Regions from separate parts of the Homo sapiens genome. Here all the other regions are linked to region 3. The links are contacts of gene promoters, found by promoter capture Hi-C in blood cells and fetal thymus (Javierre and others, 2016). All regions are on one chromosome and are shown on one strand. Each heading gives the region's core, a stretch centred on a gene start or on the middle of the fragment in contact. The rest is flanking DNA. Distances are from core to core; before and after follow the strand shown.

The links. The method cuts DNA at HindIII sites, captures the fragments that hold promoters and counts their contacts. A CHiCAGO score of 5 or more calls a contact.
Region 1: a contact is called between a fragment that was not itself captured here and the fragment with the promoter of KRTAP4-5 in region 3, in 4 of 17 cell types (non-activated CD4 T cells, naive CD4 T cells, total CD4 T cells and 1 more). The highest score is 6.2, in non-activated CD4 T cells.
Region 2: the fragment with the promoter of KRTAP29-1 here is called in contact with the fragment with the promoter of KRTAP4-5 in region 3 in 5 of 17 cell types (naive CD8 T cells, total CD8 T cells, naive CD4 T cells and 2 more); the score reaches 6.3 in naive CD8 T cells.
Region 4: a fragment that was not itself captured here is called in contact with the fragment with the promoter of KRTAP4-5 in region 3 in 1 of 17 cell types (endothelial precursors); the score reaches 5.1 in endothelial precursors.
Region 5: a fragment that was not itself captured here is called in contact with the fragment with the promoter of KRTAP4-5 in region 3 in 1 of 17 cell types (endothelial precursors); the score reaches 5.2 in endothelial precursors.
Region 6: a contact is called between a fragment that was not itself captured here and the fragment with the promoter of KRTAP4-5 in region 3, in 1 of 17 cell types (total CD8 T cells). The highest score is 6.8, in total CD8 T cells.
Region 7: a fragment that was not itself captured here is called in contact with the fragment with the promoter of KRTAP4-5 in region 3 in 1 of 17 cell types (endothelial precursors); the score reaches 6.3 in endothelial precursors.

Annotation. Positions count from the first base shown.
Region 1 is chr17:41,372,778-41,376,366 of GRCh38, reverse strand. No RefSeq gene overlaps it. Among named protein-coding and RNA genes, the nearest start is that of KRT33B, 4.8 kb to the right of the region's middle. The HindIII fragment of the contact is 4,497 bases long and covers 1-3,589 here.
Region 2 is chr17:41,301,242-41,305,073 of GRCh38, reverse strand. KRTAP29-1 (keratin associated like protein 29-1) reads left to right here and starts at 2,223. Exons shown (of 1, transcript NM_001257309.1): 1 at 2,223-3,248. The coding sequence starts at 2,223. The coding sequence ends at 3,248. The HindIII fragment of the contact is 6,603 bases long and covers 1,443-3,832 here.
Region 3 is chr17:41,147,651-41,151,660 of GRCh38, reverse strand. It overlaps KRTAP4-5 (keratin associated protein 4-5), which reads left to right and starts at 1,836. Exons shown (of 1, transcript NM_033188.4): 1 at 1,836-2,737. The coding sequence starts at 1,894. The coding sequence ends at 2,439. The HindIII fragment of the contact is 5,677 bases long and covers 1-4,010 here.
Region 4 is chr17:40,928,819-40,932,313 of GRCh38, reverse strand. It overlaps KRT23 (keratin 23), which reads left to right. Exons shown (of 9, transcript NM_015515.5): 3 at 859-941; 4 at 2,218-2,374. The region is part of intron 1 of LOC107985072 (a long non-coding RNA gene); the gene reads right to left. Among named protein-coding and RNA genes, the nearest start is that of KRT23, 7.1 kb to the left of the region's middle. The HindIII fragment of the contact is 2,996 bases long and covers 95-3,090 here.
Region 5 is chr17:40,996,252-40,999,846 of GRCh38, reverse strand. KRTAP3-2 (keratin associated protein 3-2) reads left to right here. Exons shown (of 1, transcript NM_031959.3): 1 at 1-654. The coding sequence ends at 290. Among named protein-coding and RNA genes, the nearest start is that of KRTAP3-2, 1.9 kb to the left of the region's middle. The HindIII fragment of the contact is 1,100 bases long and covers 1,095-2,194 here.
Region 6 is chr17:41,350,958-41,354,515 of GRCh38, reverse strand. LOC105371778 (a long non-coding RNA gene) reads right to left here and starts at 3,019. Exons shown (of 2, transcript XR_001753056.1): 1 at 2,913-3,019; 2 at 718-2,094. The HindIII fragment of the contact is 650 bases long and covers 1,528-2,177 here.
Region 7 is chr17:40,979,137-40,982,909 of GRCh38, reverse strand. It overlaps KRT40 (keratin 40), which reads left to right. Exons shown (of 7, transcript NM_001389244.1): 3 at 447-603; 4 at 1,759-1,920; 5 at 2,000-2,125. It overlaps LOC107985072 (a long non-coding RNA gene), which reads right to left. Exons shown (of 4, transcript XR_001752886.2): 3 at 2,303-2,461; 4 at 1-582. Among named protein-coding and RNA genes, the nearest start is that of KRT40, 3.3 kb to the left of the region's middle. RefSeq lists an enhancer at 2,303-2,904. The HindIII fragment of the contact is 2,975 bases long and covers 309-3,283 here.

The DNA.
Region 1 (3,589 bases), core at 729-3,228, 220 kb before region 3:
GGCTCCAAGAAGGAGGGAGCACTCAATCAAAGCCTTGAAAACCCAAATGTTCTGTTGATATAAATTTTGTCTGCCTGTCTTGTTGACTGCAGGCCCTTCAGCAGAGGCAATATCATCACCTAATTAAAGACGATGTAAACCATGGAATACTGTAAGTGGAATAAATAAGGAAGAGTAACACTAATGAAAATTCATGAGAAGGTTATTAAAACTTTATATACTTCCCATAGTTTCAACTTCAATCAATGATTACTGTATGATATTAGCATAATTCTGAAATAAAGTTTGCTGGGAAATGTCTGGTCAGGTGAGTGTGTTTAGGCCATAGAAGAGGGAAAGTTTTGGCCAGGTGCAGTGGCTCACGCCTGTAATCCCAGCACTTTGGGAGGCTGAGGCAGGTGGATCACGAGGTCAGGAGATTGAGACCATCCTGGCTAACACGGTGAAACCCCATCTGTATTGAAAATACAAAAAAAAAAAAAAAAAAAAATTAGCCAGGCATGGTGGCACACACCTGTAGTCCCAGCTACTCAGGAGGCTGAGGCAGGGGAATAGCTTGAACCCAGGAGGCGGAGGTTGCAGTGAGCCAAGATCGTGCCACTGCACTCCAGCCTGGATGATAGAGTGAGACTCTGTCTCAAAAAAAAAAAAGAAGAGGGAAAGTTTTCCTGAGCATGAACTTTGCCTGGAGGAGTTATGAGGTGTGTTTAGAAATTGACAACCCAATCCCTAGCCTAGAACAGAGGGTAAGTGTGGTTATAGGAGATGAAACTGCAAGGTAGTTAGGTACGGCCATATTTGGAAGTGCTCCGAATGATTATACATGAGATTTTCTTGTAAGGGAGTTTGCCATATGATATATCTGGCAGCTGTGTACAGGTTGGGTTGTGAGGAGTCCTAGAAGCTGGATGAAATAGAAGGAAGATCAATTAAGAGGTGAGAGACAATAAGGACTGAGATAAGTGGAGGAGAGTGAGGCCAAAGAGGGGTAGGTTTTAGAGGCATGGCTTAAATATGGAAGCTGAGTAGAGATAGAGGAACAATGGAAAGAAAAGGAAGGAAACTAGTACTGATCACACACTGTATTAGGGTTATCCAGAGAAACAGAAACAGTAGGCTATGTATAGATACATAGAAAGAGATTTATTATAAGGAATTAGCTTATATGATTATGGAGGCTGAGAAGTTTCATAATCTGCTGTCTTCAAGGTGGAGGCCCAGGAAAGCCAGTGGTATAATTCCAATCCAAACCCAAAGGACTGAGAATCAGGAAGGCTGGTGGTGTAAGTCCTGGTTTGAGACTGAAGGCTCAAGAACTGGGAGCATTGATGTTAGAGGGCAGGAGAAGATGGATGTCCCAGCTCAACTCTATTCCCATTGGGAGTGCAGGACTGAGTGTAAGAGAAACAGTGATGGCTCTGGAGAGGGTTTGTGGAACTAGATCCCGAGTTCCGTTTTGAGGTGTCCGTGTCTGTCTTTGCTCAGCATAGCTTACTACTGACCTGGCCTATTCTCCAGACCCTCTCCTGCTTCTCCCTTACCGGTCAATGAGAGAAATAATTTGCCTTTCTTCTACTTTTTGGTTCTATTTGACTACCCACATTGGAGGACACCTGCCCACATTGGTGAGGGTGATCTTTACTCACTCTCCTGATTCAAATGCTGATCTCTTTTAGAAACACCTTTACACACATACCCAGAAATAATGTTTTACCAGCTATCTGGGCATCCCTTGGCCCAGTCAAGTTGATACATTAAATTAACCATCACAAACACCTACTATGGGTCTGAAGATTTTCAGCCTGAGAAAATGAAACAACAATGAGTTTCCATTGGAGAGACCTGGAGAAGAATAACTAGATTTGAGGGAGATGTCGGAGAGCTGGGTAAATAAAGATGATAATTAGAGCTATAGGAATTGTTAAGACTGTCCAATGGAGGCTAGCAGGGAATAGAAGAACCTTGAGGACCACTGATAGAAACCACAGACTTCAGCTGGGGCTCTCCAAAGTCCCTGATGTGAGGTTCAGCCTTGGTTTTGCCAGATCTTGAGGACAGAGATGACATCTGGTTGCAAGCAGTTTGAGAGGGAAGTGGAGAAGCACCTTAAAGGACACAGAAGTCAAAAGAAGTTGGAGCTCTAATGAAAGAGTTGTCAACAGCATCCAGGGCAAGGATGGTGAGAATCAGACAAATCTACTGGTTAAAGCAATGGGGAGACTCCTGGTGATTATAAAGAGAACAGAGTCTGTGGGAGGCTGAGGGAAGAAGCTGTATTTCCATGTTTTTTTCATGTCTGTCTCAAATCACCAACGTGATAGTGAGTGTAATGCAAAAGTTCAACACAACACATTTGTACTCAGCTGACTTTGCTTTATCTTCTGTGTACTGTCAAAAGGTTTTAGCATCTGCCCTCTCCCTTGATCTGCAGAGCAGGACACATATATAGGTTTTCATTCCATCTCTGAGTGGGCCCTGGATCCAGCTTTTTCAGGAAGACTAGCACCATTAAATTACATCGTCCTGGATTGTGTCATGCTCTTGTCTATTCTAGACTGAGTTGATAGTCTAGAGTAGTCAAAAACATAGCATAGATCTCGTGGGAGCTGAATGATGAGAACACGTGGACATATAGAGGGGAACAACACACACTGGAGCCTTCTGGAGGGTAGAGGGTGGGAGGAGGGAGAGGATCAGGAAAAATAACTAATGGGTACTAGGCTTAATACCTGGGTGATGAAATAATCTGTAAAACAAACTCCCATGACACAAGTTTATCTATGTAACAAACCTGCACTTGTATCCCTCAACTTAAAATAAAAGTTAAAAAAAAACACATAGCATAGATGAACTTTGTATTTTTCTGACTTGGCTTGGTCCCTGAAGACTCCAAGACTCCATTCCCATTGGGAGTCCAAGACTGAGTGTAAGAGAAACATGGTGGCTCTGGAGAGGATTTGTAGAACTACCTCCTGAGTTCCATTTTGAGGTGTTTGTATCTGTTTTTGCTCAGCGTAGCTTACTGCTGACCTGGCTCATTCTTCAGCCCCTCTCCTGCTTGTCCCTTATCAGAAGCCCCATTGAACAGGGCCAAACTTGTTGGCTTATTTCCTGAATTACCCCTTCAATTTCTCCTCTCAATGTCCTGAGGCTGGAGGATTGATAAATTGACAACAGTTGCCTTTATGGAACAGTTTGTGGAAGCCCTATCTTCTGCTCTTCTAGGAAGCTCTAACAGGCTGGCCCAAAACCATGGGCTGGGGTTGTTATTGGACAGTCTTTCTGCTTTTCTAATTCCCCTCTGGGATCCCTCTTTGGCAAAAAGTCCATCTTCTTGCTCTGTGTGCATGTAGTGATACTGCTCCTGGCCTCTCCTTCTCATTTGTACATATTAAAATATAATTAATTTTCAAGTAGCCCAATGTAACTTCGTATTTCTAAAAGAATAAATTTTACATTTCTCACGGTGACAATTTCAAGCACCAGAGCCTGGACATTGGAGAAGATGGCTTTGGGAAGAAGGAGGGAGGCCTCCTAATGCCTTTGAAGTCCCACAATGAGGAAGGTGGCCTCAGCAGAAGCCCCATCC
Region 2 (3,832 bases), core at 974-3,473, 150 kb before region 3:
GATACACTAGGTGTTTTTAGTGCCTTGAACTACAGCAAGACAGATGTTCTTGCTATTAAGAGTTTCCTTTAGGAGAAAAGAAAACAAGAGCAGAATCACTTAGAGAAAAATGGATGTAGAATGGATTGCTTTAAAACTATAAAAGTGGTATAGGATATTGGACTGAAGTTGATGTGATTTTTCAAACATGCTCATGTTCCCAGTTTGATTGACATATTTGGTAAGACTGAAAGTATTAAATACATCCTCTGGGAAGATGAAGAGCTTTGGGGGTAAATATTCAGCAATAAAACACAGTGCATGGATTCCTGCAGATTGAAAGATGCCAACATGAATACAGACAAGAAGGAGGGCAAAAGAAGTGATCCATGGTGTGACATAGAAACCAACTGTGGGGAAAAAGGCATTTCAATGGCAGGGGAGAAGGTTTTCCAGACATTGTTCTGATCAAAAATGTTTCTCTTCTTTTTAAAATGGAGGTGAAGAGGGTGCCAAGGAGAAGGCATTTTGTAGCTGGGGGTTTGCAAAGTACCCTTCAGCGTTTTCAGTATTTTCAATAATTTGTGAAGCAACCAAAGCAAACAAACACCCACAAAAAACTAACCTGAGACATGACAACGCAGTTGATGAAATCGCCATACTTTGAAGACTTAGGTAATTAGCTAACATATTCAACAGAATGAGTTAGTGGCAGAGCCAGAAATCAAGGCCAGCCCCATCTGGCTCCCCACACCGTGATCTTTCCACTCCGTCATGTGCCTCCAGCGTGAACCGGCCAGAACGTTGGCTGGTGTAGAACACCGGACCTGGTTGGTGATGCGGAGCCAGGACAAGCCCGGAGGAAAAGCAGAAGGGCCAAGAAAGTCCCTCACGAATTCCTCTTGGAAGGGATTGGTTTAACATTAACACCACTTTACAGTGATTTTTTTTATTATCACTGCTGGCGTGTTTTTATTTGTATAGAATTCATATGCTATTGATGCCCTAGGGTGGGTTTGATACTTCCTGATGAAATATTTGGTAGTTTAAAAAATTTCCAAAATTAAAAGACTGTGTTTGAGTGTATTGATAAGTAGAGGTAAGTACTCACACCAGTGTGGTCTAGCTGCTGATTACAGTCACTGGAGTGGGCGGAGGATCCCCAGGATGGGGCCTGGGCAACCTGCTCACGAGCCAGTCTGTTGCCATAGGGGTGTCAGCCTGCAGCCACTATATCAGTGTCGCCTTCTCCCTGCCTCCCCAAAGTCAGGGGGTCTAATAGGTGGTTAAGATCAGGGGTTTGGTGGTCAGACAAAGCTAGGTTTGAATTTTGTTTCTACCCCTTTTCATTTGCATAATTTTGGGAACATGATTTAAACTCTATGAGTTTTGCCACTTCTGTTTTCTTCTTTTCTGTTCTAAAAAAATCTTGAGAGGAACCAATTTGGGGGAGATTTTAAGCTTCCTAAAAGGGCCAATGAAGTTTTATATTTTAATCTTAACTTTGTTTTAAACCTGGTTTCTTCTTTATTTATTACTTTTTTTTAGTTTTGCCACTTCTAACATAGTGATGACAATTATACTTACTGAAGTCATTGTGAGGATCCAGTGAAAAATGCAGCCAAGGACTTGATCTAGTAACTATGCAATAAATGAAAGCCATTTCTATTGTTATTATTAGTAATAGTACTAGTAAACAAGTTTCAGGAATGATAAATGGGAAGGTTTTAAAAAGAGGTAGAGGCACTTAAGTGTCCCTGGGTTCCTTGGACTAATTTTCCATTTCCCGTCTTGACATCCTCTCCCCAAACTGGGTCAAGGCTTCATTTCTGATTGAATGGTGCAAAGCTGCATTCCTGGAGGAACAGCAGGGCCACTCTGGCTTGGCAGAGGCCTCCTGATGAAAGGTTAGTGCCAGGAAAGGCCTGCTTCAGTGAGGCTGGAGAGCAACCTGTAAAAGAGACAGCTCATCCAAGAGCAGGAGCAGTGTCAACGAATCCAAATGCAGCGCAGAAAACTCCCGACTCAACAGACACCTTTTCAAAGTTGAAACATCTCCCAGGCTCCTGAAGCCTGCTAATCAGATGTTTGCATGCAAATGAGTAAAAACAATAACAAGGAAAGATGCTGCATGGCGTGCCAACACCCCTAGTGAAGGACTATAAAAGCCCCTCTGTATCGGATGTCTTTCCAATGCAGGTATACTGAGCTTGCAACTTCCCAGCAAGGTCAGCACCAGCACCATGGCAGACGGCTGTTGTCCTGGAAACACCACAGCCATTCCAGCTGTGCCCACCATCACCACATACCCAGTTAAAGGTGGATTTCGACATGCTCTCTGTTTGCCTAGTTCCTGCCACAGCAGAATGTGGCAACTGGTCACATGCCAAGAAAGCTGTCAGCCATCCATTGGTGCCCCAAGTGGCTGTGATCCTGCTTCGTGTCAACCTACCCGCCTTCCAGCAACGTCTTGTGTGGGTTTTGTTTGCCAACCTATGTGCTCCCACGCAGCCTGCTATCAGTCTGGCACTGGTCAGTCTCCTTGTCTGGTTAGCTCATGTCAGCCATCCTGCTCGGAATCTACTTGTTGTCAGGAAAAGTGCTGCGATGCCAGTCCCTGCCAGCAAAGCTCCTGCCAGGAATCTGTCTGCATGTCTGGATCATGTCAGGCAGCTTGTGGCCAATCAGTCTGCTGTGATGCTGGATCCTGCCAGCCATCCTGCTCTGAAGTGACCTCCTGTCCGGAAACTTCTTGCCTACCAACCATCTGTACAGCTAGTCCATGCCAACCAACTTGGTGCCAAGGAAGTTCATGTCAACCCGTCAGTGGTGAAGGCCAGCCCTGTAAATCAACTTATTATCAACCCATCTGCTATATTTTCAAGCCTTGCCAATCAGCCCTCTACATGCCTGTTCCCTGCCAGCCATCGACTTGTGTGTTCAGTTCTTGCAATACTACTTGCTGTGTGCCTTCCCATTGCCAGCCACCTCACTGCCAACTGGTTCCTTCCACATGCTTCATCTACCAGCCAGTGGCTAACTGCCAGGCCCCTTGTTCCACAAAGAACTGTTGCAAACCAGCTTCTTGTGACACTGTGATTTCTGGCCAACCAACTTGTGATGGACCCCCTTCCTATAACCAGAGTGGCTGCAAATCAGCTTGCTGTGTGACTGGTTTAGGCACATCACCCAGTAGTGGCTCCAATTGCTTGCCGACTTCATGCCAACCCAGCTGTGAGTCCAGCTTCTGCAAGGCAACACTTTGTTAATGGAGCCCTCTTCACACCTCCTCTGAGGGTCTGCGGCTGTCTATAAATGCATAGCCATCCCTGGGTGCCTGCCTCCCACCGAGTACAAATGCTGCCTGCTTTCTAACTTTACCCTGATTCCACCTTCACATTCTCTCCAGGTGCTGACCAGGGAACTTGTCCAGGCACGAAGAGATCCTTCTTAACCGAGAATAACCTTTCAGCAACCATGGACTACCACACTGCTGCTTGCATTTCCTGATGATGTCAATTCATTTCACTTTAGCAAACCCTCTCTTGTTTCTCTTTCTTGATGCTGCCTGGTCTTTCAGAAGACCTCGTTGCTGCCAGCTGCTAATAAAAATGTGACTGGTTAAGTATAATAAATAAGACTCCTGGAGTGCTTTCATTCCTACACACACCTCTATGTAGATTTCCTTCAGGTCACATTTGAACACAATGAGCCTGAGTCATCTAAGTCAGTGGGTCTGCATTGGTCTGCAAGGGTAGCTAGTGTCTAGGATTATAGATTCTCCAGCTGGACGAGAGTAAGGGCAAACAGTTCACTGGCTTCCAAAATTTTCACCACCAAGAGTTCTTTTGAG
Region 3 (4,010 bases), core at 587-3,086:
ATTAGGGAAATACAAATCGAAACCACATTGAGATATCACCTTATTCCTGTTAGAATGGTTATCATCAAAAAGACAAAAGATGACAAGTATTGGCAAGGATGTGAAAAAAACTCCCTCGTACACTGTTGGTGGGAATATAAATTAGTTCAGCCATTATGGAAAACAATATAAGGGTTCCTCAAAAAATTAAAACTGGAATTACCGTATTATCCAGCAATCCACTTCTGGGTACCTTATATATCTACAGGAAATGAACTTAGTATGTTGAAGAAATAACTGCATGTCCAGATTTATTGCAGCACTATTCACAATTGCCAAGATATGCACACAGTGCAAGTGTCCACCAATGAGTAAGGGGATAAAGAAAATGCAGTATATACTCAGTGCAATACTATTTGGCCGTAAAAAGACGGAAGTTCTGTCATTTGTGACAACATGGATACATCTCAAGGAAATTATGCTAAGTGAAGTAAATCAGTCATAGAAAGACAGATAGCACATGATCTCACTCACATGATCGCACTCAAAAAAGTTGATATCATAGAAGTAGAGCAGAGAATGAAGATAATCAGAGGCTAGGGGTGGCTAGGGAGTCAGGGGCTTGAGGAGATACTGGTCAAAAGACATATAATTGTAGCTAGACAGGAAGAATCAGTTCAAGAGGTCTACTGTATAGCATAGTGACTATAGTTAATGATGATATATTGTACATACTGTATTCTTGAAAAATTCTAAGAATGGATATTAAGCGTTCTCACCACAAAAAAATGATAGGTATGAGAGGTAATGCATTTATTAGCTAGATTTAATCCTTCCACAATGTATATATACTTCAAAATATTATGTTGTATGTGGTAAATACAATATTATACGTCAATCTGAAAAATAACTAATTGTTTTTAATTTCACTGAGCTTGAGTTCTTTCTATATTAAGCACATCATGCAAGACACAGTAGTGGGGGTAGATAGATTCTTAAAAGTATTATACAGGTGTTACACAGTGTTAGGGAGCCTGGGTGAAGTACAGACAGCCTCTCCTGGGACTGTTTGTTACAGCTGTATGTAAATCTACAATTATCTCAAATTTCTTTTTTAAAAAGTGAAAACACACACCTGCATTATGTTAACAGACAGTTAGAGGCATTTAAAAAAAACAATGAGTTATGGAATAAAAATGGGACTATGTCTTCCGGAATCTAATAGATTAACTGGAGAGACATGACACAAAATATAGGAGAGCAAAGTATCAATTTAAGAAACTGACCCATTAGTAACACCAAGTATAAAAATTTAAGGATATGGAATATGACCCAAAATTTGAAACATTCAGGGAAACCCATTTCAATAGTGTAGAGGTCACCAAGGCCACATGCAGGTATTGCTATCCCTTTGCTTATTGCTTAATAATGACCCACAGACTAGGAATGCCACACTGAGCAGATGGGTTTTCCTCGCTATTGGTCACTAGAGGGAATGCATAACTGGAAGTGTGACTGACCAAATCCCATTTTGGTAGAGGGTACCTGAAGCGAGAGTAAGAAATGCAATTCCAAATGCAGGGAATCACATGAACAGCCCTCTGTGGAGGAAGAGGAAGAGAACGTGGTCTAGAAGATGCTACCGAGGTGTGAATCATGAGAGAAGGCAGACATGATAGATCTTATTACATCCGGACAAGAAAATTTTGTTTTCAACAAGTTTAAACCATTAAATGGGCAAACATTATTGTGTAATCTGATAATCACTTAGTTATTAAGTAAACAAAAACAAGGAAAATGTAGTACCAACAAGACAGCTGGGCAGTATATAAGAGGCTGTGGCCCAAGGACACTTCCAAACTTGAGAACCTCATTCTTCTAGAAATCCACCCAGAACCTCCACCCTCTGACACCATGGTCAGCTCCTGTTGTGGCTCTGTCAGCTCTGAGCAGAGCTGTGGCCTGGAGAACTGCTGCCGCCCCAGCTGCTGCCAGACCACCTGCTGCAGGACCACCTGCTGCCGCCCCAGCTGCTGCAAGCCCCAGTGCTGCCAGTCTGTGTGCTACCAGCCCACCTGCTGCCACCCTAGCTGCTGCATCTCCAGCTGCTGCCGCCCCTATTGCTGTGAATCCAGCTGCTGCCGCCCCTGCTGCTGCCAGACCACCTGCTGCAGGACCACCTGCTGCAGGACCACCTGCTGCTGCCCCAGCTGCTGTGTGTCCAGCTGCTGCAGACCCCAGTGCTGCCAGTCTGTGTGCTGCCAGCCCACTTGCTGCCGTCCCAGCTGCTGCATCTCCAGCTGCTGCCACCCCTCTTGCTGTGAATCCAGCTGCTGCCGCCCCTGCTGCTGCGTGCGTCCAGTCTGTGGCCGAGTCTCCTGCCACACCACTTGCTATCGCCCAACCTGTGTCATCTCCACCTGCCCCCGCCCCTTGTGCTGTGCCTCCTCTTGCTGCTAATGTCTCCTTGTGATATTTGTCATACTATGAATGTCTTCATTAGTCATTTAAAATGCACTGTAGCCAGCCAGTCACTGGAAAAATGAACACTTCCCTGCCAGTTTGTCTCATGTGGCATTCAGAGTGGACATTCAGCTCTTCTAGGAAATGACAGACAATCACATTCATTAAAATATGTTATGCCAGGCCCCAATGCAGTTATTTTTAGATGAGCAGTGTCTTCATTCGAAGGGGACACTAACTGTGATGATCTCATATAATATTGTTTTCATGTATTAATAAACAGCCACTTCCCTAATATTGAAATCTTCTGATTTGTTAGTGATCTCATTGTGCGTGTGTGTGTGTGTGTGTGTGTGTCTTTACCTGTCAGTTCACATCAAGGGCCATCTCTCTTCAAATGCAGGAGAGCATGTTTAAGAGCCTGGGCTCTTGATTCATGTTCCCTGCATTGGAATCACGACTCCCCTAGGTATTTGTTGCGTGGCATGGGGCAAGTTTTTTAACCTCCTCAGGCCTCAGTTTTCTTTCTCTGTGAATAGAGATAATGCATTACATTCTTTAAATGTTAAGAGACATAACCCATGTAATATACTCACCACAGGGCCTGGTACATAATGCAGTATAGGCTCTTAATGGATACAGTTTCTGGCCGAGCGTGGTGGCTCACATTTGCAATCCCAGCACTTTGGGAGGCTGAGTGGGTGGAACACTTGAGGCCAGGAATTCGAGACCAGTGTGGGCAACATAGTGAAATCCCTTCTCTACTGAAAGTACAAAAATTAGTTGGGCGTGTTGGTGCACACCTGTAGTCCCAGCTACTTGGGAGGCTGAAGCAGGTGAATCACTTGAACCCAGGAGGAGGAGGTTGCAGTGAGCCGAGATCATGTCACTGCACTCCAGCCTGGGTGACAGAGCAACTCTGTCTCAATAAATAAATAAATAAATAAATAAATAAATAAATAAATAAATACAATTTCTGCTGTTACTATGATTGAAACAATACCCTGGGCTAGAATAATATCTTAGCATAATTTTCTTTTTGACAGAACAGCAAGAAAATTTGTATCATTGTTGCGCTGTCTTCTACAACTCAAAATTAAGTTTTGGTATATGCCTCAAGTGTCCCTTAAAAACTCCAGCAAGTTGAACATCATGAAGTCATCTACATTTTGTCTGACTGTATTTCTACTTCCAGTATGTTCCATTATTTGTTGTGGAAATTTTGAGTGTTTTCCCTAGCTCAAGTACTTTTTTCTTGTTTCCTTACTTCCCCCTCCCTCCCCTTCTAATCCCTTTACCTTCCCTCCACCTCCCCTCCCCTTGCCTGCCTACCTGCCTTCCTTCCTTCCTTCCTTCTTTCCTTCCTTCCTTCCTTCCTTCCTTCCTTCCTTCCTTCCTTCCTCCCTCACTCCTTCCTTCCTTCCTTCCTTTTTTCCTCTCTTAACATAAAATGATCTTTCAGAACACAGTCTACCTTCTAAGTCAAGATTTCGGGAAATTTATGACATCTGTGGCAGTTTTCTCATAAAAGTTTTACATCTTTTAATTAATAGATGCTCAAAGTCTTA
Region 4 (3,495 bases), core at 343-2,842, 220 kb after region 3:
GCTTTCAATACTATTTTTCTTTTCAAAGTAAAAAAAAAATTATACGAACATCTAGTGAAAGTCTTTAACTGGAGGCTTTACCACTACTGAAGCTTCTTAAGCATTTTCCTTAGATGGTAAGGAATTATTTCAGTTAATATTTTAATAGCTACAATGAGCACATTCTCATCACAGAATAAGTTGCAATGACATAAACACACCTTCAAGTTACAGTCACTTCGGGCAAAAAAAAAATGTGTTCTGTGATGACTATTACAAAATACATTGAATATTAGTGTTAGCGTTGCTCAGTAACACTGATTAGAAACATGATTGCTATCACAAGTAAGAATTATGTTCACCTGAAATAATAATTTTTGTATTTTTGGAGGGCTGAACTAATTAAAAGTAATGGCAAAAATCACTTTTTCACCAACCTAATACAATAAGAAAAGGATCAGAACCTAAAGTCCTTTTAACATCTTCAGCTGTGGATGAGCTTAATTAAGCAAAATGCTATGACATGTCCATAACCTAAAAAGTTAGAGGGCATTTTGAACAATTACTGTCCTTCCCCTTCCTATATCATTCTTTCAGCAGTTGCATCAATCCAAGCCTGTCAAAACTCAACATAAAAAGAAAAAAGGCAGTAACACTGACTGCAGATCATATTCTTATTTTAAAATCATTCTGCTTTGCACCTAGTATGTGCTCACTAAGCATTTACTGATTCGGTTATTCATTGTTCCACTGCCAGAACAAGAAGTTGTCTGTACTAACAAGTCAAATATTCAGGAAGCTAGAGGACAGACATGCAGCGGTCATGTGTGGGTGTGTCCAAGTGAGATAACCTTTTGTGCTTTTGTGCATGTTTTACAGATAGTGGATGGTAAGATGACCAATGCTCAGATTATTCTTCTCATTGACAATGCCAGGATGGCAGTGGATGACTTCAACCTCAAGTAAGTTCCTTCTTCACAGGGTTGTTCGGGTTTTTGTTTGTTTGCTTTACAAAAGGAAAACTCGGCGGGGCGCGGTGGCTCACACCTGTAATCCCAGCACTTTGGGAGGCCAAGGCGGGCGGATCACGAGGTCAAGAGATCGAGACCATCCTGGCCAACATGGTGAAACCCCATCTCTACTAAAAATACAAAAATTAGCTGGGCATGGTGGCACACGCCTGTAGTCCCAGCTACTCGGGAGGCTGAGGCAGGAGAATCACTTGAACCCAGGAGGTGGAGGTTGCAGTGAGCCAAGATCACGCCACTAACACTCCAGCCTGGCAACAGAGTGAGACTCCATCTCAAAAAAAAAAAAAAAAAGGAAAACTCATCTTGCCATTACCCGCATCTAAAATCTTATAATGAAAAGGCATAGCAACGGCAAATGCACTGTGTGTTACTTGAATGAACCTTAGTTTAAACAAATCAGATATAAAGCACATTATAGTATGGGGAAGTTTGAATATGAATCAAGAATTAGATGATATTAAAGGGTTGTTATTAATGTTTAGGTGTAGTGTTATGTTTATTTTATTTATTTATTTATTTATTTATTTATTTGTTTATTTTTGAGACGGAGTCTTGCTCTGTTGCCAGGCTGTAGTGTAGTGGCGTGATCTCGGCTCACTGCAACCTCTGCCTTCCAGGTTCAAGCGATTCTCCTGCCTCAGCCTCCCAAGTAGCTGGGACTATAGGTGCACACCACCATGCCCAGCTAATTTTTGCATTTTTAGTAGCAACAGGGTTTCACCATGTTGGCCAGGATGGTCTCAATCTCTTGGCCTCGTGATCCGCCCGCCTCAGCCTCCCAAAGTACTGGGATTACAGGTGTGAGCCACCGTGCCCGGCCTGTTTATTTTAAAATATATTTTTCTTAAAAGATGCATCCTGAAGTATTTAGTCTTAAAATGTCATCACATCTATAATCTGCTTTAAAATACTTCAGCAATGAAATAGATGAAGCAAATATGGCAAAACATTCATGGTTGCTAAATATAGATAATGGGTATATGACTGTTTATTATCCTATTCTCCCTACTCAATTTAAAAGTTGACATTGAGTCACCATCATGGAGAAGTGTAGCATGAAACTGGCATAAAAAAGACATCCTATATGTATTCATTTGCTCTCTTTAAACCTAAAAAGTAAAAGATTCACCTCTAAATGAAAATGAATCCTTTCAAAAACCATGGCCTTCCAACAATGAGTGCACTCTTCTCTTCCTTCTCACCAAAGGTATGAAAATGAACACTCCTTTAAGAAAGACTTGGAAATTGAAGTCGAGGGCCTCCGAAGGACCTTAGACAACCTGACCATTGTCACAACAGACCTAGAACAGGAGGTGGAAGGAATGAGGAAAGAGCTCATTCTCATGAAGAAGCACCATGAGCAGGTACAACTCCCCAGGAACACCTGCTAATAAGCACAGCTCTTAGCCTGCACATCTCAGGCTGATTCGACAGCTACAGAAGAAACCACCACCTGGATGCCAATCCCCTTGTCCTTCACCCTAAATAGTCTTTAGAAAAACATACAAATATCTAATGTTTCTAATTTCAAGGTTAGCTAGTCACATGTCAAATACAACAACCAAAATGCAATCATAATTAATGATGAATTGGTCAACAGTTTTGTTAATACACAATGTTTACCTAGATGTGCTTGTTAATGTTACTATAAGAATCAATGCGTGAGACTGGACTTCCATCACTGGCCCAATGTTCAGCAAGTTAGGGGACAATATAATGAAGAGAGTCTGCTACCAACCAAGATAAGTGTGATGTGGGGCAAAAATAAAGAATCCTAATTTCCAGAAGCATTTAACTGACTTTTAGAGTTACCATCCATCACAAGTCCTCAAGACTCTGATAAAATGATAGAAAAACAGTTCCCATTTTAGGAAAACAAAATTGCTTCTCAACATCAAAGAGCTCAGTTTCTGAATAGCTGGTTAGACAATGATTGTTAATTAAACCTTTCCTGTGGCTGCTTGGTTTTCATGAAATCCTATGGGCGTCAGCCCTACAGTGTCACAAGGCATTGATGAGATTTTGAAAGCCTCTACACCTTCTTTCTGCTGTTTGCCTCTTGAACTGCTTCCCAAAAGCTTTGGCCTATAGCCTGTAAGGTTCAGCTGCTTAACTATGTTGTCACTTCACCAATCCACATCTGCTGAACAGGACTTTGCACACTATGGAAGCATAATTCTTTCTGAAATATTTTCAACCACGGATCAAGTCAGTAATCATGGAGGCTATTTGATTACCTGCCTTATGATATTCTTTTTTTTTTTTTTTTTTTTTTTGGAGACAGGGTCTCACTCTGTCACCCAGGCTGGAGTGCAGTGGCGCAATCTCGGCTCACTGCAGCCTCCACCTCGCAGGTTCAAGCGATTCTCCTGCCTCAGCCTCCCAAGTAGCTGGGATTAAAGGTGTGTACAACCACACCCAGTTAATTTTTTGTATTTTTAGTAGAGACAGGGTTTCTCCATGCTGGTCAGGTTGGTCTCAAAGA
Region 5 (3,595 bases), core at 395-2,894, 150 kb after region 3:
GCTGTGCCTCTCGCAGCTGCAGTGTCCCCACTGGGCCTGCCACCACCATCTGCTCCTCCGACAAATCCTGCCGCTGTGGAGTCTGCCTGCCCAGCACCTGCCCACACACAGTTTGGTTACTGGAGCCCATCTGCTGTGACAACTGTCCCCCACCCTGCCACATTCCTCAGCCCTGCGTGCCCACCTGCTTCCTGCTCAACTCCTGCCAGCCAACTCCGGGCCTGGAGACCCTCAACCTCACCACCTTCACTCAGCCCTGCTGTGAGCCCTGCCTCCCAAGAGGCTGCTGATGGATGGCTACTTTGCTCAGTGCCCGACAACGAAGAATCCAGAAGCTGTCCCTTCAGTATTCACTTGCCTCAGTAGTTTGCCAGATGTTAAGGTAGACCAGATGACCCAGATATGAAGAACTTACCTTTGGTTTTAATGGGGGAAAAAAAGAAAAGTATTTTTTATGGTTATTTAGCTGAAAAACCATTTGGTTCCTGTGGGCAGGTGAATGAGTTTTATTAGCAAAATACTGTTTCAATCTTTAAGACCTCAGATTACATGTTCTTGATCATATTGCTTCCTGGCTCTTGTTTCTTGTACTGGGTATTTTCATAGAAGAAAATTTCTTGGTGGGTTTTCCAATAAACTATATTTCTCTGGCAAGATGTGTCATTTGTTTATGTTAGTTTTGGGTATATTTCTTCCATTTTAAAAAGGTAAAAACAGGATGATTATTTTAATCTTTTAAAGAAGACTCTATTGGCAGAATGACTAACATTCTTGCTACTACTAACATGGCTTGCTAACTTTTAACAGGTTCTCTTTCATGTTTGCCTTCTCTTCTCTCTTCTTCCTCAGACAAGTGCAATTTTGGTGTGAACCAACATTTATTTATCTACTCTTCACCAGTAAATTATTGATTTAGTCCTTAAAACAGCACTAATGGATAAGAAAAAATGAAGTTTTAAGCGTTATTCAACATTCTGAAAGTCATAAAGTTAATTACTTAGAAAATCAGAATTCAGCCTCTTGTATGTCTGACTCTAAAGCCCAATTTTTCCTACCACATCATAGAACCTTCAATACTAATGAAACCAGAAGCTTAATGAGCACAGTTATGAAATAAACCCAAAATATGCAAGAGAAATAAAACATGTAAGATTCTTTAACAAAATCCACATCGGATTATAATAGAAAAAGAGTACATTGGTTCATAGATTAAAATTGGCAAGTATTCAATTCTAAAATCTGGGCATTTTGAAGGTGTACCTATTTCAACTTCATTTTCTCTTAGAGAGAACTCAAAGTGGTCAACTCTAGTAACAAGGCACCAGGGACATACCTTTATTTGCCACCATACTCAGCACAGATGTTCTACCACAGTAATCAATAGAATGCCAATACTTTTCAGGTGTCTCAGGTTGAGAGCTAAAACTCTGATTACGTATGCTTTAATTCGTTACTTAATTTTATCAACCTACTTAATTTTATCTCATGAAGATTTTTCTTTTCCAAGCCTAGAGAGAACAAGTATATATTATATATATAATACATCCAATACATTTATGTAACACATATAAATATATGTGTGTATGTATATCTATACACAATACATATATAAAGACACAAGTCAAAATCTGAAAATGCATTGAAATAAAACCACAAGAAGACATGCAAGAAACAGAGTAGGACAAGGAAGGGGAGAAGCAAATGCTTTTTAACAAACTTGTTTTAAAATGTCCTCAATGTACCTGTTAGTGTCTTGAGAGAGAAATTTCTCACGGGATTCCATAGGCTTTTTACAGCTCAACCTTAAATGAACAGAACTTAGCAGCCATGGAGTCTATGGGACACTACAGAGGATATTGTCAACAAGAGATCTAGTCCATTCACTCATTCATTTGTCCATATTTCCTGAGTGTTTGCCCTATGTCAGGCATCATATTGATGCCAGGAGTAAAAAGATAAAAGAAATGCTATTACCTCAAGTCTCAAGTGCCCTCAAGTCTCTCCCAAATCTAGTGAAGAAGAAAGACAAGTTATCATAATAATAATTGCAATGCTGAGGGATTCTGCTGTGACTGGGAGGTGAGCAGCATGGCATGCAAGCATACAGAAAGAATAACTAAAACCCTGATTTGGTGATTCAGTGTCAAAGGTGAGAAATAGCTACGGAAAGCCTCTGAGCTATCCAGTCTAAGCTTTAAAAGATGAATAGGCAGCAGGAGAGGTAGGGAACAGTTGTTCCAGACAGAATAGCAGCTTAATAAATCATGGAGGCAGCGGAAAGGTTGGTGTCTTTAAGCCACAGGAGGTAGTTGGGAATGACTGGATGAACAATGCATTGAAGAGGGTGAGGCAGAGAAGACAGAAATGCAAAGACCCAGACATAAGGGGCTCCTCAAAGCAAAGGGGTTTGGACTGAAACTTTGAAGCAATGAAATATTTCAAGCAAGAGACCAATATAATCATGTTTTGCTTCTGTCTCTTTTCATTATTAATCTTTGATTTACATCTGCACTGTCCCAGATCCCTCCATTGACTATAGAAAGATATAATTAAAACTGGACTTCTTGGATGTGTGAGTGTGCGTGTGCGTATGTGTGTGTGTGTCTAGATTTTTAGCACCCCGAAAATCTACCATCTCATCAAGAATCACCATGTTTTTCCTACATTCACTTAAAGAAAAAAGATACGCGTTGTTTTTAAAAATAAAATGCTTAGTATCTCTGACACATAGTTTAAACTTCCATTTCTAACCACATAAAAGGTAGCTCAATCCCAATAGGTCCTATATTTAGTTTTTAACACACTGGCTCCCGAACCATCTAAGGCAAATCATCTCACCTCTCTATGAATCACTGTCATCATTTATAAACAAAGGAGAGTAATTCTCAGGTCTCTTAGACCACTGCAGAGAAAATACATTTTAATAAAGTGCTGCAAGTCTTGTCAATAAAAGAGAAGAGCTTATTATAATAAACTTGTTGCATTACAACTGTTTGTAATCTGTAACCTTGTCTTATTTATGATTAGAGAAACACAATGTGCTGCATAAACAGTAATAGTTGCTCTAAGCTTTTATGGTGAACTCAAAGTAATATTGTATCCCAGGTAAGAAGCTGATAGCTTTCTGCCATGAAATTCTAATCCTGAGGGTCTGCAAGCCATGTTTCCTTTGTAATGTTTCCCTCAAAATAATTTTTTCTTTTATTTTTTGTCTTTTACTCTTTTTCTTTCCTATTATAATGTATAATAGCAGCAGCTTATAATAATATGTTATGTGTATGAAAAATTCTTCCACCAAACTGTAAACTTCATGAGGGCAAGGATGGTGCCTATCTTGTTTATTGCTATAAATCCAACATTTATCACAGTGACTAGCACATAGTAACTGCTCAGTAAATGTCTGTTGAATTACTTTTTAAATAATAAGTGAAATACTAATCAGTTCTAAGTAAAAGGGTGCACACTTCGGCAGGCATTCATACAAAGATAAATCTGGGGAAAGTCCAGGAACCAGAAGATATCATGAATTCTCCCTTTCAATCAGAGCCATAGGGAGCTTTTCAAATTTTTAGGTTTGTTAATTTATATGCCAACC
Region 6 (3,558 bases), core at 603-3,102, 200 kb before region 3:
CCATGGGCTAGCAGTCAATGGCAGAATGTTTCTCCAAGGGTTACTCCTCCTTGTCTTCTCCTTCACCCGAAGCTCAGACCTCATGCCAGTCAATTCATGAGCTATAGGTAGCTTGATTTCCCTTCATTCCTTCTTAGTAGCTCACCTTTGGAATGGACAAAGTCAGCAGATATCACAAGGGCATGAATGCCGATCACAACAAAGACTTTATTTCTAGAACAGGCTCAAGTGTAATGTAGTAATTATATTGGAACAGGAGCCTCCTAGGCTTTTTTTTTTTAATAACTCATTGTTCCTCTAGAAGATTTGCAAGAATTTCCTTCTGAAATTTTAAATGTAAATTTTATTTTGTTTATTGTGCAGAAGTAACATATATTTTCAAAGAATTTGGAGAGAAGAAAAAAAACATTCATAATCCTGTCATTTAATAGCATCCAGTGTCATTGTGGTGTGTTTTCTTTAATCTCTCAATTGTCCCCATTTTAATAATAGTTTAATTTTGTTGTGACTATCTTTTGTGTACCTTACTCTGGATAAGCATATTGCTGTCGAGTAGGGTCACCATTGTTTGACCAATTGTTCTAAGTTGCTCCAAACAGATGGGATATAATCTATATCTGATGGGATATAATTATGTTTAAATTACTCCAAATTGTTGGTATATAATTGTATCATCAACTTAGAAATAATTGAAATCAGAGAGTTAACAAGAAACTGTACTATTGCTGAATTCTATCTTTATTTACACATTGACTCATAATTCTTCTTCAACACAGCATATCTATGGTTAACAAGATGTTTTTCTCACTGCCCTTGATTTCTGTCCTTAGGTAATAACAGATCAGATTGTTTGTGAAATTCTTCAACATTTCAGTAGAATGGTGATTGGGCTGATAATGCAGTGGGAATCAGAAGATCTGGGTCCTAGCTAGATGATACTAAGCAAGGCATTTCTCCATTCTGAGCCTCAGTTTCCCCTTCGTAAAACGAACGGTTTGGATGAGTTGACCATTAGGATCCCCAATATCTTGTTCCAAGATTTTCCCTCTCTCTTTTAACCATTTTCATATTTAGGATCTATGTTAGGAGGTAAGAGGGAGGAAGAGAAGAGCCAAATGCAAAGCCATCTGGTTTTTGGTCTGTAGCTGTAGCTGGGAGGCTTGGAAGCTGCTTGGATTGGTAGCTGTAGCTGGGAGGCTTGGAATCTGTTGTCTGCTTTATCCTCTGCTAGCAAGGACATAGGAAGCCCCTCCTCTTTCTGGCCAATGTATGCCTCCTCAGGCCCATACTTGAATTTTTTCCTCATTGCCTCTTTAGGATATCAAATAAGGCTCATCTTACATCTTGTGACAAAACAGAAGTGGTGTCATATGCACGGTCAGTTCAGATTACTCATGCTTCTTGGATAATTGTTCCTAAATAATAAACTATTACGAATCATCAAGTTCAAACAAGTCTGGCATCTGCGTAAAGCCCACTCCAATTATTGTATAAAAGTCTGTATTGGTAAGATCAAAGCTCCAAGCTTAATAATCAGATATATAAATTTATTGCAGCAGAACTTCTCTAAGTAATGAACATCTCAATTCTGTGTGTTTGAAGTCTTGGTTTACCGAAGTTCACTGTGGGCATTACTTTAAGAATGTGCACAGGCGCTGCGTACAGCAGGCATACCTGTGTGACCCTGGAAAGGTCCTGGTAAATTTCTGGTCAAGGCAGCCAATACCCTCTCCATGGTCCTGATCATGTGCGGCCCCTTTGCTGCACTTGGCACTTCTAACATCACCTCCTCTTGGAAGCACCCTCCTTCCTGCCCTTCTGGGATGCCATGAACTTGTTTTTATCATTTTTTTCTCACCATTTCTCCATTTATCACAGATTCTTTTTCCTTCTCCTGATCTCTGATTGGGAAATTCTCCAAAGTTTGGTCCTCAGCTCCTTGTTGCTCTTCTCTTTGTACTCTCCCTTGGCCCAGTTCTCTAACTCTCTCACTTGTACTAAACCTTATCTGTATCATCATCCCTGCCATAAATTCTAGTCTTGCATGGACTGTTGCAATAGTCTCTTTGCTGAACTCTTTGCCTCCAATCTTTCCTTCATTTTTCAAAAACAGATAAATATTTGCTAAAACATTTCCTAAAACACCTTTTGTCACACCACACTTAGGTTCAAAAGCTTATACTGGCTCTACAGCTTCTGGGGAAGTCCAAGCTGCTCCACTTCACCATCGAGACCCCCTACCATAGGGTCCCCATACAATCCCCCATAAAGCTTTAATTTCTAGCACTTCCCTTCACAACTCTCCCCTTCCTGCTGCCTAGACTTACCCTGGTCCTTCAACCATGCCTTGGGCTTTCCCACCCCATTCCTGTGTGCACATTATTCTCCTCACCTGCACTTCCTACTTTTCTCCCCTCTGCTTCTTAGAAGCCTCCCTATCCCAGCACAAATCCATTCATCCATTCCTAAGAGCCTCCAATCCTGGAGCTGCTCGCCCTCCCCAGTGTGTAAACCACTCAGTTATCACTTGTCAACTTCTGCCTCAGATTATTATTTCCTGTTCATCCCTTCATCACTCTACCCACACCCATTCAACAGTGCCTACCAGGTGCCTAGAGCTGGGGATTCAAAGACAAACTAGACCCTGCCCTTGCCTTCAGGGACCTCAAATAGAGACAGAGAGACAAGCACATAAGTCATGACAGTGTCATGCTCAAGGTAAAAAGAGAGCTTGGAGAGGAGAAAGGGACGGCCTGTCTGAAGAAGGGAAGGAAGTAAGCCATTTATATTTAAGCCAAGTGTTGTGATGAAAAGAAAAGTGATCTGCTTTGGAATCCTAGGTCCACAACTTATTATCCTCACCCTCTATGCCTTGGTGTTCTCATCTATAAAATGGGAATTATACAGTTTACCTTTAAGAGTTCTGGTGAGGAATAATGGACATCTAAGTTCTGCATGTTTGAGGATCATGTTTGTAAAAAGGATCTAGTTTGTGAAAAGTGTCCACACTACCTTGGGCTTGTGCAGTTTCTTAACAAGTAAGAACTTCTTCTGACCATAGCATTGAGTCCTATTTTCCACCCCTCCCAGTGTCTATTACATCGCCCTGGATGAAATTGTCATAGTGGATATCTATTATTTGGTTGATTGACGTCATCATGGACATGAAAAAAGCCCATCATATCAGGAAACATGGCCATCAGGAACTGTCCCAGAAAGGATCTATTCCTCTTTCTGAGAACCATGAATTTGGAATTTGGCACTTGGAAATGTGACCTAGCAAAAGACACAGGGCAAGAGCTATGCTTTTCCATTTCACCAAGGAGAGCCAGAGCTTGCCAAAGAGTTAGGGGCCTCAAGCCACAAAGCAGAACAGCAATACTGTCTCTTGACCTGCTGCACCCCACTGAAGAAGGCCAGGGCTTTCATGAGTCCAGGTCTTTGAAGTCACACCATGAAGCTCTTACATCATGACACACAGCATGGAAGAGGAGTCCCGACTTAGCGAGAAGCCCAAGTAAAGTATTTTATGAGGGGAGAGACTCTTCTGAAGAAACA
Region 7 (3,773 bases), core at 547-3,046, 170 kb after region 3:
CAGCCTCCTGAGTAGCCGGGATTACAGGCAGGCGTGCACCGCCACACCTAGCTAATTTTTGTATTTTTAGTAGAGACAGGGTTTCACCATGTGGGCCAGGTTGGTCTCGAACTCCTGACCTCAGGTGATCTGCCCGCCTTGGCCTCCCAAAGTGCTGGGATTACAGGCATGAGCCACCACGCCCGGCTTTAATTTTAATTTGAAAATAACTTATGGCTCTCTCTCTCTCAATCTCTCTCTCTCACACACACACACACACACAAATATTCTCTATATAATATTTTAAAGTTAAGAATGTTTTAAAAGCTTGAATTTATCATTACTTAGGAATTAAGAGAAATTATGCACATGGCTTCCTGAAGTCCGTGTGTCGATCCTCCATGTATCCCCACACTTTGCACAGCGTTCAGCAAAGTAAGCGTTGGATTTCTCTTTTGCTGTGAAAGGTACGAGAGTGAACTGTCCCTTCGCCAGCTGTTAGAGGCTGACATCAGCAGCCTGCATGGGATCCTGGAGGAACTGACCCTGTGCAAATCTGATCTGGAGGCCCATGTGGAGTCTCTGAAGGAAGATCTCCTTTGCCTTAAGAAAAACCATGAAGAGGTAAGGAAAGTGGCAACTCCGCTGAAGGACTCCGAGAGTAACGTACTTACATTGACAGATGATCTGTTGATGTTTGTAAATCGAATTTGGGCAGATGTTGTTTAAGCTGGAATAAAACTACTTGAGGCAGGGCCAGGCATGGTGGCTCACACCTGTAATCCAAGCACTTTGGGAGGCTGAGGCAGGAGGATCACAAGGTCAGGAGTTCGAGACCAGCCTGACCAATATGATGAAACCTCATCTCTACTAAAAATACAAAAATTAGCTGGGCATGGTGGCAGGCGCCTGTAGTCCTAGCTACTCGGGAGGCTGAGGCAGGAGAATCACTTGAACTCAGGAGGCGGAGGTTGCAGTGAGCCGAGATCTTACCACTGCACTCCAGCCTGGGTGACAGGGCGAGACTCCATCTCAAAAAACAAACAAACAAACAAACAAACAAAAACTACTCGAGGCATTATTACTATTCAACCTGATCATTCCAGTGTGTCTCTGATTTAAGGTGTGAAATAACCCCTAGACAGCGCCAGAGGAAGGAATCAAACTCTTCTCCTGCCCTTGCCTTTGTGGAGGAGGTAACTTCACAAATGGCTTCCTTTGGAGGCTTTATGCCACCCCTAGCTCCAGTCCACAGGGTATGAAAATCAGGCTGAGGAACAGACTGTGAAGTCCATTTCAAAAAAGGGATAAAGACTGTGCACTATCTGGACCAGTGTTTTTAAATATTCCGCATTTATAAACTTCTAAAAATCATAAAATATACAGCCACTGATATATTGATAAAGCTAGAAAATGAAAAGCTGAATGATGTAACAAAGTACATTTGCTCTTTGAACGTTTGTTGATGACAATCATAGCTAACATTTATTGACACCTTACTATGTGTCATAATTAACTTTTATAAGTTAATTATGTGTAGATTGACTCTTCTAGATCTCACAATAACTTTCTGGAAAAATGTCCAATTATTATGTCCATTTTACAGACGAAGAAACTGAGGCCCTTCTAAGTGGTGAAAAGAGATTCAGCCCAGGCAATCTGAATCAAAATCTCACACTTTTACCCACTGCTCCAAAAAACAGAAGTAGAATGCCATTGGATGTCAAATGGATTTTTCCCCACCATTCTGTGACATTCTTTACACCATCCCACTTTCAGGAAGTCAACTTGCTTCGTGAACAGCTTGGCGACCGCCTCAGTGTGGAGCTGGACACTGCCCCCACCCTTGACCTCAACAGGGTCCTGGATGAGATGCGCTGTCAGTGTGAAACGGTGCTTGCCAACAATCGCAGAGAAGCTGAAGAATGGTTGGCTGTTCAGGTCAGTACCCAGATTGAAAAAATGTCAGGCTTACAGACTTCTGCCTTTTTTGAATTCTCTAATGGTGTCTGTGTTTCAGACAGAAGAGCTGAATCAGCAGCAACTGTCCAGCGCGGAGCAGCTGCAGGGCTGCCAGATGGAGATCTTGGAACTGAAACGCACAGCCAGTGCTCTGGAAATTGAGCTCCAAGCACAGCAAAGCCTGGTGCGTGAGGCAAAGGCAGTGTCCGTTGTGTCACTGATAAGTCAGGCCCTGAGATGTTAAGCCCTCTTCCATATCCGAGGATCACATTTCCTTGCCTTTCCCGAGTACTGCCGTTTACCCAGCTATTAATAGAAGCAGAAGTGACAGGTCCACAGCTTGTCCTCTAAGATGCCTTACCTTCACTCCTGGGCTTGAGTCTGATGCTGCAGCAGCCTCCAGAGACAGGGAGGGAGAAGCAGAGCTGGAGAGAAACCTCCGGGCCATGGTCGCTTAAGCATTCTGGCAGGTTTTAATTCTCATTTGATTCAGGCCAGTTTTCCAGGCTCACTGTTATATCTAAAACAAAGAATCATTTTCAAACATTTCATCCTACAGTTTCCCAGGATCTACACTTCAACCTTATCCTTCACTGCACCACCCCCCACTCAAGCAACAGGAACACCATGCGTTCAAGATGACATGAACCAGTTCTGGTCAAGCACCACTGTGTGCATGTCATTAGGCCCTGCGGAGAACACCTAGAAGAACAATAGCTGAGCATTCATCCTGTGAGAGGCACTATGCTGATTTAAGGCTCACAGTAACTTTACCGGATAGATACCTTTATCCCATGACACAGATAAGGAAAACTGAGACTCAGATTAAGTAACTTGCAAAGGATGCAATTCTAAGAGGCAAACTTGGAAGCTGAGTTCAGCCAGTTGAATCCCAGAGTCTCTTCTCTCTCTCTTTTTAAATTTATTTTTATTGATATATAATATGCGTAAATTTTTTTTACGTAGATGTGATATTTTGTTACATGCATAGAATGTGTAATGATCAAGTCAGGATATTTAGAGCATCCATCACCTCAAGTATTTATCATTTCTATGTGTTGGGAGCATTTCAAGTCCTCCCATCTAGCTATTTTGAAATGCACAGTGTATTGTTGTTAACTGTAGTCACACTTCTCTGCTGTCCAACATGAAAACATATTCTTTCTGTCTAACTGTATGTTTGCACCCATTAACCAACCTCTCTTCATCCCCTTACCACACATATGCCAGTCCCAGCCTCTGGTATCCAGAGCCTCTTCTCTTAATAGCACTATACTACCCCTCCCTGCCAAGAGCCCAAACTCAATCTTTCCTCTCATATGTTGTGGATAGTCCTTAAGCTTCACAAATATGTCATGTATTGCTGTAGTCATAGTGGTGGTAGTGATAGTTGACACGTAGAACAGTGGCAGTATGGCTGGCACTGTTCTAAATGCTTTACGCACATTAACTCTTTTTTTTTTTTTTTGGACGGAGTCTCCCTCTGTCGCCCAGGCTGGAGTGCAATGGCATGATCTTGACTTACTGCAAGCTTTGCCTCCCGGGTTCACACCATTCTCCTGAGTAGCTGGGACTACAGGCGTCCACCACCGTACCCAGCTAATTTTTTATATTTTTAGTAGAGACGGGGTTTCACCGTGTTAGCCAGGATGGTCTCGATCTTCTGACCTTGTGATCCGCCCGCCTCGGCCTCCCAAAGTGCTGGGATTACAGGCCTGAGCCACCGCGCCCAGCCCGCATATTAACTCTTAATCTTCACAACCGTCTAATGAAACAGATACTTTGTATTCTCCACTATACAGAGAATAAAACTGAGACTCACAGAAGCTAAA